Regions from separate parts of the Homo sapiens genome. Here all the other regions are linked to region 1. Evidence: promoter capture Hi-C in 16 types of primary human blood cells and fetal thymus (Javierre and others, 2016). All regions are on one chromosome and are shown on one strand. Each heading gives the region's core, a stretch centred on a gene start or on the middle of the fragment in contact. The rest is flanking DNA. Distances are from core to core; before and after follow the strand shown. Region 1 holds the start of HOXD1 (homeobox D1). Region 2 overlaps LOC105373760 (a long non-coding RNA gene). Region 3 has its middle 140 kb from the start of ATP5MC3.

Region 1 (3,652 bases), core at 645-3,144:
GCTGAATATATGTAGCCTTGTCCTTTAAATTAAAACCAGAAAAACTTTGGGCAGGTGCTCTTCTGAGCACATCAGAGTGCTGACAGAACTCAGCAACTAATGGTCTGCCACTCTGCAACGCGAATTGCACATGACTAAGTGAGGCAAAGATAGCAGCGGAGCTGGGCTGGCAGCTGGGCACCTTTTCCCTGATAAGACACAAATCATAACCAAACAAGTGGCTTACAAGACAGTCAATTAATATCTGGACATATAGTCTGGAACTCGGAAGCCAACTAAAGTACTTCATTTCCCAAGTGAAATCCCTATTCATTTTTGTTCTCCCACCTCCATCCCAAACTGAGCTCCTAAGTCTAGATAGGGATGGGGGTCGCCTGGGACTTCTGCAGGCCACAGTTTTTCGGCCCCAAGTACCGGCCTCACGAAGGCTCTTGGGACTGAGAAGGGCTGCCGGGGTTCTTGATAAACTTAGTGGGGGTTGTTCCAGAGAGGGGAAGTTGGAGGGGAGCCACAGGAATGGCCGTGGCCAGAAGCCCTTCTCGTTCCCTTTTCTTCTGTTTCATCCTGCGGTTCTGGAACCAGATTTTGACTTGCGTGTCATTCAGGTGCAAGCAGTTGGCTATCTCGATGCGCCGGGCTCGAGTTAAGTACTTATTGAAATGAAACTCTTTTTCCAGTTCTGTCAGTTGCTTGGTGCTGAAATTCGTGCGGATCGCGCTGGAGGGGCTAGCGGCCCCATACTCGGCGAGTTTGCCTGCAACGTAAAGACAGGGCGTCAGCCAGGCCTGAGGCCGGGGACAGAATGTGGGTGAGCAGTGGAGCTAGTTAGAATCAAAGTCCCAGCGCAGCCCTCCTGGGTCCCTAGGAACAGAATTTGTACCAGGAGAAGTTCCACGGAGAGCTCCTTCCTGAAATTTTCTCAATGCCTGGCACATTTTCCGAATCTGTACTCGAGGCAGACTCCATGGAATTCGCCCGGGAACGCGTCTCCTCCACAAAACCCAAACCGCTGTCTGGAAAGGCAGCGACACCACGCTCCCAGCGCATTTCCGCGGGGGAGGCTCCGTCCCCAACCCCAGGTGGCCCCATCCAAGGCCCGCGGACTTACCTTTCTTAGAGGCATTCCTCTTCACTTTCATCCACTCGAACGTGCTGAAGGCGGCAGGGAGGCCGGAGGCGGGAGAGACGGACTTGGGGTAGGTGCCTGGGGCCGGGGATGCGGTCTGGAAAGCACCAGGGTGGCCGTCGGCTGACGCTTTGAGACAAGCCGGAAAAGGGCCGGGTTCGCCGAAGGCCGCGTAATCCACCTGGCCGCTGAGGAGGAAAGAGCCGCCGCCCGAGAAGACGGCCGAGGTGGCGTAGTGGACGTGAGACCCGCCGTCGTCGGCCGCCCGCCCCAGCACGCCCGGGAAGTCGTACGCCGGCCCGGACCCCAGGAAGCCGTAGTCCGCGCCCCCAGCTGCCGCGGCAGGTGCGGCACCAGGTTCGTAGGCCCCCTCCAGGGTGCACTGCGCGTACTGGGGCGCGGCCGGAGGCGGTACGGACGGCCGCGCGGGGGCGGCCGGGGGCGAAGGCGAGGGTCGGGCGGCGGCCAGGGGCAGACAGCTGACGAAGGCGCCGTCGCCGTTGCCCAGAGGGAAGGCGGGCTGCAGAGCCACGGGCCGGGCGTCGGAGCGGCAGAACTTGGGTGCCAAGCTGAGCACGTCGCCGCCGACCCCGCCGCTGCTGCTGCATGACACGTACTCCAGGTAGGAGCTCATGGTTCGGGCCCCACCTTTCTGAGGGCGCAGGCCGGGGCCGGAGTACGGAGCCGGGCAGAGGCTGAGCAGGACTGCCGCCGTCTGCGCCGCTCCGCCAGCCCTCTCTACCCGAGCTGCCCTCTCCAACCCATGGCGAGTGAGCCGGAGGTAAATAGTGGCCTAATATACCGGCGGGGGCGGCCACGTGGCGCTGGCCGGCCAATGGGCGGCCTCTCCGCTCGGCCCGGTCGGCGCGCCGCTCCTCGCGCCTGCCCCGCAGCCAAGTTAGCCAAAGCAGCCCAGGGCCGCCGCCCAGCGCCCCCGAGCCCCGAGGAGAGCCGTCGCGACCGGGGGCTGCCTGGGCAAGGGCGGGGCGAGAGGGCAGAACGCCTGCTCTCGGACAGGTATTGGGCGAGGTGGGGGGAGAAAGGCAGGACTGGACGCTTGGGTGAGGGCCCGTGGATGCAGCGGGGCGAGCCGCTTCTGCTCTGGATCGTGGGGGGGGCTAGTCCCTCGAGGGCGGAGTGTGGGCGTCGCGGCATGGAAAAGGTTAAATGGGAGCGTGACGCGCGGCCGGTGGAGACTGCTCTTCGCCCACCTCCAGGACAGATAAAGTTATTCCTCTTCCCCTCTTCTGAGTCCTCTGCGCTTTCGGTTTGCTTGGCGCTGATGTTATCCCTCTTCTAAACCTAGAGCAGATGTTTGGTTTTTTCCTTTCTTCCCCCTTTCCTAGGACTCATGGAACTACATCTTATGCTGTGAGTGCTGTGTGCCTAGGGCGGGACAAAATTTTCACTTTTTGACTAGGCTTCCTTTTAACGTGACTTTGCAGCTTTCTTCTATCCCTCGCAATTTGTGGCGGCGTGATGAGGGCCAGTGTTGTAGTGCCAGATTTTGATAAAGTTTCTGCCTTGTGGGGTGGTTTAGCAGATTTTCCCCTCCGGCTGGGTTGTTGGAATAAAGAATCCAGAGTGGTGGTGGAACACTCCTTATGCTCCTTTCTGGGAGACTGGCACAGGCACCGGTGCGGCGCTTGCTTTCACTGAGGAGCTTGTCTGGAGGGCGCAAGGGCTTACCGGGGACGGGTGAGATCTCAGAGGTTTAGATGGACTTGTACCTCGAAGCAATTAGAGCTTCTGCTCCATCAGATAAGTGCTGCATCGTCTCTTGTGAGTGAAATCTGAGGGCTCACAATGTTAATGGGCTCACGTCTTTCCCTTGATAATATGGTTTTGTTTACTGAGTGTAGAGAGACGGGAAATAAAAGTGCAATTGCCACAGGAAATGAAGAGTAGAAAGGTTACAAAGACCAGCTTTACATTGACAAACTTTCCAACTTCCTTTAGTATTTCTTTTAATGTTCCCTTTTGAGGGGACTGTAGGAAAATTACAAATTAGATAAATAGAGGTTATTTACACACAGTAGTTATGAAAGAGGGTGGTTTCCTAAAACCCTGTGTGAATAAAGACTCTAAAGAGTCTACTCAGAGCTTATATCAAGTGCCCTTGAAAAGTTAATCTATTACAGCCTCTAAGTTATGGTAACCGAGGTTTTATCATTGTTTTACTGATTGACTTGTCATAAAAGAGCGATTGAGCTGTTGTTGCCTAAATTTCCACTCTGAGGAAGTCTTTAGAATAGGCGCCATCACAGCCCAGGGAGCCAGTTCCTTCCAGGGTTGTGGACTTGTGAATAAACAAAGCCCTACCAAAATGTGGACTACTGATGGACCCGAAGTTGCTGCAGGATGGGGGAGGGATGTCCCCAGGTTGAGGGGAGCCAGTAGAGGGTGGATGCCTAGGAATCAGCACAAAGTTAAAGAGGTCTGTGGTTCCTGCACTGCTGGAGTTCTTGAGTTTGATTGGAAATGGAATACCTGTGCTGAAAATAGCCCTTCAATCTTGATTTTGCT
Region 2 (3,652 bases), core at 537-3,036, 950 kb before region 1:
GCAATGAGAGACTGGAAATCAGGCAGTCATTTACGTTTTACTTCACCACCCTTTGCTTATGTGAGTACAAAGCAGGGAGCTGGCAAGGCTGTGAGTCAGAACTCTCCTCTCAGGAACTGAGCAGAGAGATTCCCAGCATCTGTTTCCTCAACTATCACCCAGAGGATACTGGTGGTAAATCACAGGGAATAAAAATAGCCTCAGAAGTCTAGTTCCAGACAAATAAGGCATGCTGGATATTCGATAGTGGTTTGGGGTCTCAAAATTCTTCATTAGCTAAATAACAAATATATTATTTTTTACATTAATGAGCATATTCCTTACATTGTTCACCTAAATGTTGAGCACAACCTTGGCATTTCTACTGACGTGAGTTGAAGTATTACCTAAATTACATTATGTTTGATGTTACAGTCTGAACCATTTAGTGTATAAAGGTGGGTCTACAATCAATAATCACAAATGTTAAAGCTTTATTTTAGATACAATAAAACATTTATTTCTAAGATGTTAAAAAAAAACCCATAAGCTTCTTACCATAATGTCAATTGCCAATAGATTGATAAGATCTTTCTGCATTTTGACTGCAGGAAATTTTATGGCTAGAATCTTACAATTTACACAACTTACAGTCTTTTTAGGTTATATTTCACATATAAGAAAGTATTTTTTAGGTCTGCCTAGAAATGTTGTAATTTGATATTAAGTTATAGCTTAGATTTTCAACAAAAACAGCAGCTGTAATAGATGAGATTAGCAAGTGGTGAAAAGTTCAAAGCATTTAATGGAATTGATCTACTAAATTAGCATTGACAATTTTTAGTGGCTATCTTAAATATACATTATTATCATGAAAGAATTAGTCCAATTAAGCCTTTACATTTGGAAGATGCCCAGTCTGACCTTGTTCTACTCAATGTGAAAAGTGAGAGGGTCTTTGGGTTTATTTAAATTTGGTGTTAAATCAATTGGTTTGGGGGACCTTTTACTCCTTTTTGGAATGGAAGAAAAACTCAAAGGCTATTTATAGTGACAAATGGGTTATTAGAACAGTTAATATATTATATTATAATTTATAATTATAAATTATAATTAATATAATATATAACAGTTTTTATATTGCAAATAAAAAATGATGACCAGGAGTTGCTCTGAACCTATTCTGGTTTAGGGAGCTGCCCAGCTAAAAAAAAAAGAAAAAATAATGATTGAAGAATAGAACAAAATAATATTTGATACATAGGTGAGAATCAATTAGAGTGGGATTCTTTTCTCACAATTTCTTACTAAAGCCATATTTACTGGGTATACTGGATGTATTTTGGAACTGAAATAATTATATTGTATTTAATATCAGGTTTTATTTAGAACACTCTCAATTAAGAAATAACCAGCTAATAAAAAAATAGAAATCTATGCAAATATACATGAAGAAATAAGTATGGGATTTTCCAGAAATCTAATTTCTATACATCAATAGTATATTTTATATTCTGTTGATACAGACTTCTATGATAACTTGAACATAAATATCATGAAAATAAAATTGAGTTTTGAATTGTCAGTTTAATTGTGCAAACTCTCTGATGATGGCTGGTTACTCATTTATCATGAAATTGTGGAGTCTTGGCTCTTACGTAAGGGGCTTGGTTGAAAGGCCAGCTTCTTAATTCACAGCGGCTTATACGTGAGTCTTCATTGGAGCTCAGGAGCTAGCTCTTTTGTGAAAGCATTTAGTAAAATATATTTTAGTTGAGGTTTTTTTTTTTTTTCTGTTGTTATCCATTCCAATATTTAATGGTCCATTTCCCTAATCTGGGCTTCTAACCCAGACACTTTTGGACATTTTTAATAGAAAAAGATGTCTTTTGCGTAAGATTTCTTCAAAAAGAAAATTGTAACTAATTTACCCCCCAGCTTTCTCTTCTATAAACGGAAAAATCCAATTCTCATTTATCAACTCCCCACCTTTTTAAGTTCTCCTCTGAATGCTCAGCAAATTATTCATATCCATCTTTAAATATAGCACTCTGAGGGGAGTTTAGTGCTTTATTAAGGTATCTGAGGAAGATGGGAGATGATCTCATTTATTCCTGAGGATGTATTGAAAAATCCTCTCTCTGCCAGACTCTGCTAGGTGCTGGGAATACAGTAAGATTTAACAAAAACCTTGAGGGAGAGAAAGATTTGCCAACAAGTAATGGCAATACAACATGTTAAGTGCTAACATGGGTGTAGACAACATGCATTTGTCTGTCAGTCCTAATTCGGTATTCATTGTCAAAACAGTATTTTAAACTGCTACAGCAATGCCTACTGACAGTCATATTTCTATGCAAACAATTTCTAATTAGCTCCTGTAATTCAGGTGTGTACTTTGAACACATTTTTCCATACTACGTTTAATCTACATTTTGTTTCTTATTTGTACAATTTTATCTTAAATTGTTATTTTACCTTCTAAATTTCATTTTTTGGCCTCTTCTGTCTGTTATTCGGGTTGATATCAAAAACACCATTTGTCGTCTCCTCAATTTGAATGCTTTAGTTAGAACTCCCCAGCCAATCTATAGTTAATGAATCAACAGTTGTCTGTTCCTGGTCTATTTTCCTAGCATGCCTTGTAGGAGAGAATCAAAAGCCTTCCTAAAGTCCAGCTTAGGGTTCATCAGTTAATTTTCTGTGATCCATCAGGCCTTCCACTCTGCTATGTAATAGGATGACTGTCTATTATCTACATAGGACAAGTTCTTTGTGAAGCTATATTGATTATTAATGATTGTGTAATTAGGTACGCTCTCAAGAGTTCTGGTTATTTTGGTCCTTTTTTGAATCTCTAGGCATCTACTCAGTTCTCTGAATATTACACAAAGGTAGGGACAATAATTTTGTACCACTCATTCAGTGTTGTCAAATGGAAACAAATCAGAGCTGGGGCTATCAGAAAAGAAGTGGGCAAGTCATGCATCCTGGTCATCGTCTATCACATGTCAGCATTAGCTTCTGCATAGTGCAGCACTGATCATGGCATGATGCAAGCTTTATTTGGTCACCATGGACAAGTATTCCCCTTTTATTGATTTGTAATACACCATTAAGCTTCATTGTAATAAAATTGGACATGATAGATAGCAAAATGATAAAAACCACCTGTAATTCCCCTAACTAGAGACTAGCATTGTTAGCAGTTTGGTTTACACATGCACGTTGGTGTATGTGGATGTGTGTGTGTAAAATGTGTATAATAAACATACATACTGTTTTGCATCAACCCACCTTTTTCACTCAGTACTACATAGAGTTCATTTTTCTAAGATAATGCACATCATATAACCATAGAAATTCAACTTTTCAGTATTGAATCACAACTGTGTTCTTTTTGTTGTTCAATAATACTTCTCTAACTCCATGAGTAAAAAGAAACCTCTCCTTCACTCATACCTCTCTTATAGCATTATCTCTTTTTAAATTTAGGTAGATTCCTTATTATCTTAGTAATTGCAGTCTCTGAGAGTAGGATCTATACATGATTTATCCTTATGTTTCTTACATTTTAGCTGCATAATAAATATTTATTGAATAAATGAATACATGAATTTTAGTAACGGGAACTGAAATCTTGGAACTTCATGTTTTGCTTTTAGTTCTGTCT
Region 3 (3,652 bases), core at 480-2,979, 860 kb after region 1:
GACATCCATGGGTTAAGATAAAGGACTCTGGGTGCCGTCAAACTAGAATGGGGCGCAATGGATGGATACTCATCCATTTCATGGAGGAGACTAGGAACCAGAACACAAGGTGGCCTCCTCTATTCTTTTGCTGATTTCCCCTTCTCCATCCTGTCCAGGCCATGAATACCCTCCTCCCTAATTCTCTTTCTCCCAGGAATACTGCTTCTCTTCTTCCAGCTGCTAAAGAAAGTGGGGTAGATAAAACTCTGCATCACATCATGGAGATGGCTGTTTAATTTGAGATGAGTGTTACATTACTCATTGCTCTGAGCCCCCTTTGATCCACCAACATTTGCTTCTTTTATCCCCATGTAGTGAGTACATTAGTGCCTGAATGCTGCGTGATCTCATTGTCTTTTAGATGCTGTCAGAGATTATTTACTCAGGAAAACAGATGAATATCTTGTTTAATGTCAAAATAATTACTATTTGGCTGGCCTGACAGTTTATTTATGCTTTCAATATTTTTATGTTTATATCAAAAGAGCATTGCTAAAATTGTATTTTGCCATTAAACAGGATATGACAACTTTTTTAAACTTAATTTTTCTGTTTGATGAGTTTGTTTATTAAAATGGTTAGAAGATAACGGAACCAAGTGGAAATGGTCACTCGAGTTGAAATGTGCAGCTTTATGTTTCTTATTTGTATAAAAGCTTGAAAGAGGCAGTAAATAATGCTTTAAGCAAGGGGCACTAAAATGCAGTGGTTAAGAACACAGACTGTAGCCCCAATTTCAAATCCTCACTCTGCAGTCTTAGTCCAGTTTTTCAACCTATCTGTGACTTGGTTTCCCCATCAGCAAAATAGATATTATTGTAAGAGTTGAAGGAGTTCATATACATAAATTTCCTGGCATATGCAAATGCTGCTTAAGTATTAGCTATTATTTAAATAAACATTTGTTTTTTGCTTTTTGTTTTTTTGCAGTTGCAGGATTTAATAGAGTGAAAACAGAGCTCCCATACAAAGGGAGGGGACCCAAAGAGGGTAGCCGTTGCTGGCTCGAATGCCTGGGTTTATATCCTGATCACTGTCCTTCCTGCTGTGCTCTCAGGCAATAGATGATTGGCTATTTCTTTACTTCCTGTTTTTGCCTAGTTAGCATTTTAGTGAGGTCTCTTTATTACCTGATTGGTTGGGTGTGAGCTAAGTTGCAAGCCCCATGTTTAAAGGTGGATGTGGTCACCTTCCCAGCTAGGCTTAGGGATTCTTAGTCAGTCTAGGAAATCCAGCTAGTCCTGTCTCTCAGTAACCCCTCTCAACAGGAAAACCCAAGTGCTGTTGGGGAGGTTGGTCGACGACCGCTCTAACTGCTTCCTGCTGAATTGGGGCATAATAGGGGTTGTGCAGTTGAGATTTCCTTGGGAGGGGTGCCTTCAATGTCATTAACACGGAGCATGGGCTAGCAGGCCAGTCCAAGGGTCCTTGGTAGATTTTAGTCATGGACTGCATCTGGGGCTCCAATTTAAGAACGATTTGCAGCTTTACAGCTTCAATTCTGGAAGAGACAAACTTAACAAGGAAATAAAAGATACAGGGTCCAAAGAGGAGTAACAATATTATAGCTGCTAGAGGTCCTAAGAAGGGGAGAATTCAGGGCATCCATTGGCTGAGGAGGCCCCAGGGTCCAGTGTTTTGAAGCTCCTCTGCTCTACATTGCATTCGATCTTGAATTTCTTTAAATTTCTCGGTAACAATTCCAGATTGATTAACATAACAACAGAATTCTTCCCCTAAAAATAAACAGGTTCCCCCTCTTTCCGTGGTTAGCAAGTCTAAAGCTCTTCGATTTTGAAGGACTACTGCTGCTAGGGAGTTAAGTTAATCTTGCAAGGTGACCAGGGAGTCGGCGACCCATTCCATGTCACCATTTAGTTCTTGAGACAGTTTGTAGTAGAACTGAGTAGAGGTTGTGATACCACCACACAGCACACCTAGCACTCCTGCTCTGATAACAAAAGGAAGAATGGGTACTCTTTTGTTGCGGGGCTTAGGTACATGATTGTATAAATCTAGTTCTTGAGACAGTTTGTAGTAGAACTGAGTAGAGGTTGTGATACCGCCACACAGCACACCTAGCACTCCTGCTCTGATAACAAAAGGAAGAATGGGTACTCTTTTGTTGCGGGGCTTAGGTACATGATTGTATAAATCTTGTTCAGTGTAGATGGTCATAGGAGGCACTAAGAATGAGAGGAAGCACATAGATTCTGAAGAGCCATTCAAACAATGATAGGCTGAGGTACCACAGACAAAAAATATTCCTGAGGGTAGGCAGACCACTCATGTGGGAGGAGTTACCCACCTGAAATAAACACAAGTTTTACAGTCATTCTGTGAGTTTGAAATGGGGAAAGGGAGTCCCTATAATTTTATAAGGGACTTGACCTAGAGTGAATCTCCGTGAGCCACCACCTTCCAATGTCTCTGGCCCAATGGCCACCTTGCCTCCATTTTGTAAAGCAAGAAGCCTTCTAAATTCGAAAGCCCTGTCCTGACACTGGACAAATCTTCCTGTTTCTTGGCTGAGCTTACCTGGAAAGGTGTTAAAAAGCCAGGTTTACTTGGCAATAATGTGCCCACTGTTTTCTCTTTTTGGGGGACTCTCTATAAGATTAATTCATCTACACAGACAGGTTTCTCTAGCCATAAACCTTTATTTATTTTCATTCAGCAGCTTTTATTTCAACTCTTTTGTTTACCAAAGAAGCTTAAGGGAGGAAAAGCCCTCCCGGCAGGTTACAACCACTGTGGCACTTGGAAAGAGACACACGGGATGAGGATTCTACAACATAACCCTGCTGGGAGCTCTTCTGGTTATTTTGGCTTTGTTTTTGTGTGGTATGTTACTTCTTTATTCTTCATATGACTGCAACTTTCTATTAAAATAAGCACATATAACTAGATATTAATTCACTAATTCAGCCAAACCAGGTTGTTTCTATTTGCTTCTCAGCTGGGTGATAAATGTATTGGTTTAGCCTCAGGTATGCTTTCTCAAATTCAAGTTCTTTTCTCAAGTTTACAATGGCTTGTGGAGACTCATCTTTCTGCAAGATGTCATTTCTTTTTTTTTTTTTTTTTTTTGAGATAGTCTTGCTTTGTTGCCAGGCTGGAGTGCAGTGGCGCGATCTCAGCTGACTGCAACCTCTGCCTCCTAGGTTCAAGCGATTCCCCTGCCTCAGCCTCCCAAGTAGCTGGGATTACAGGCATGTGCCACCATGCCCAGCTAATTTTTTGTATTTTAGTAGAGATGGGGTTTCACCATGTTGGCCAAGATGGTCTCGATCTCCTGACCTCGTGATTCGCCCGCCTCGGCCTCCCAAAGTGCTGGTATTACAGGCGTGAGCCACCGCGCCCAGCCAAGATGTCATTTCTTAAGAGCACTTCTCTCTACCCTGAGAAGAATGAATCCAGAAATGGTTCTGTTTGTGTGTTAGGTTACCAGGTTTGGGGCTTGTTTCAAGTCTATGTGACCTTTGAATTTCCCTCTTTGCCATGGAGAGGCAGGTAGGATGACTGGAATCAGGACTGGCAGAGAAGACTACAGAGCCCATTATACTCCCAGAAAGTAAGCCAGGGTGGGGCTGGCTTCCTTAATTTTCCC

What was found. Contacts are between HindIII fragments. The CHiCAGO score rates a contact against its expected background, and 5 or more counts as called.
Region 2: a contact is called between a fragment that was not itself captured here and the fragment with the promoter of HOXD1 in region 1, in 4 of 17 cell types (naive CD8 T cells, total CD8 T cells, naive B cells and 1 more). The highest score is 7.1, in naive CD8 T cells.
Region 3: a fragment that was not itself captured here is called in contact with the fragment with the promoter of HOXD1 in region 1 in 1 of 17 cell types (neutrophils); the score reaches 6.1 in neutrophils.

The regions. Positions count from the first base shown.
Region 1 is chr2:176,186,910-176,190,561 of GRCh38, reverse strand. It overlaps HOXD1 (homeobox D1), which reads right to left and starts at 1,894. Exons shown (of 2, transcript NM_024501.3): 1 at 1,109-1,894; 2 at 1-754. The coding sequence starts at 1,760. The coding sequence ends at 420. HAGLR (HOXD antisense growth-associated long non-coding RNA) reads left to right here and starts at 1,604. Exons shown (of 3, transcript NR_033979.2): 1 at 1,604-1,748. It overlaps MIR7704 (microRNA 7704), which reads right to left and starts at 1,719; the gene lies at 1,661-1,719. The HindIII fragment of the contact is 11,390 bases long and covers 1-3,652 here.
Region 2 is chr2:177,140,046-177,143,697 of GRCh38, reverse strand. The region is part of intron 1 of LOC105373760 (a long non-coding RNA gene); the gene reads left to right. Among named protein-coding and RNA genes, the nearest start is that of MIR4444-1, 71 kb to the left of the region's middle. The HindIII fragment of the contact is 2,510 bases long and covers 532-3,041 here.
Region 3 is chr2:175,323,845-175,327,496 of GRCh38, reverse strand. No RefSeq gene overlaps it. Among named protein-coding and RNA genes, the nearest start is that of ATP5MC3, 140 kb to the right of the region's middle. The HindIII fragment of the contact is 2,057 bases long and covers 701-2,757 here.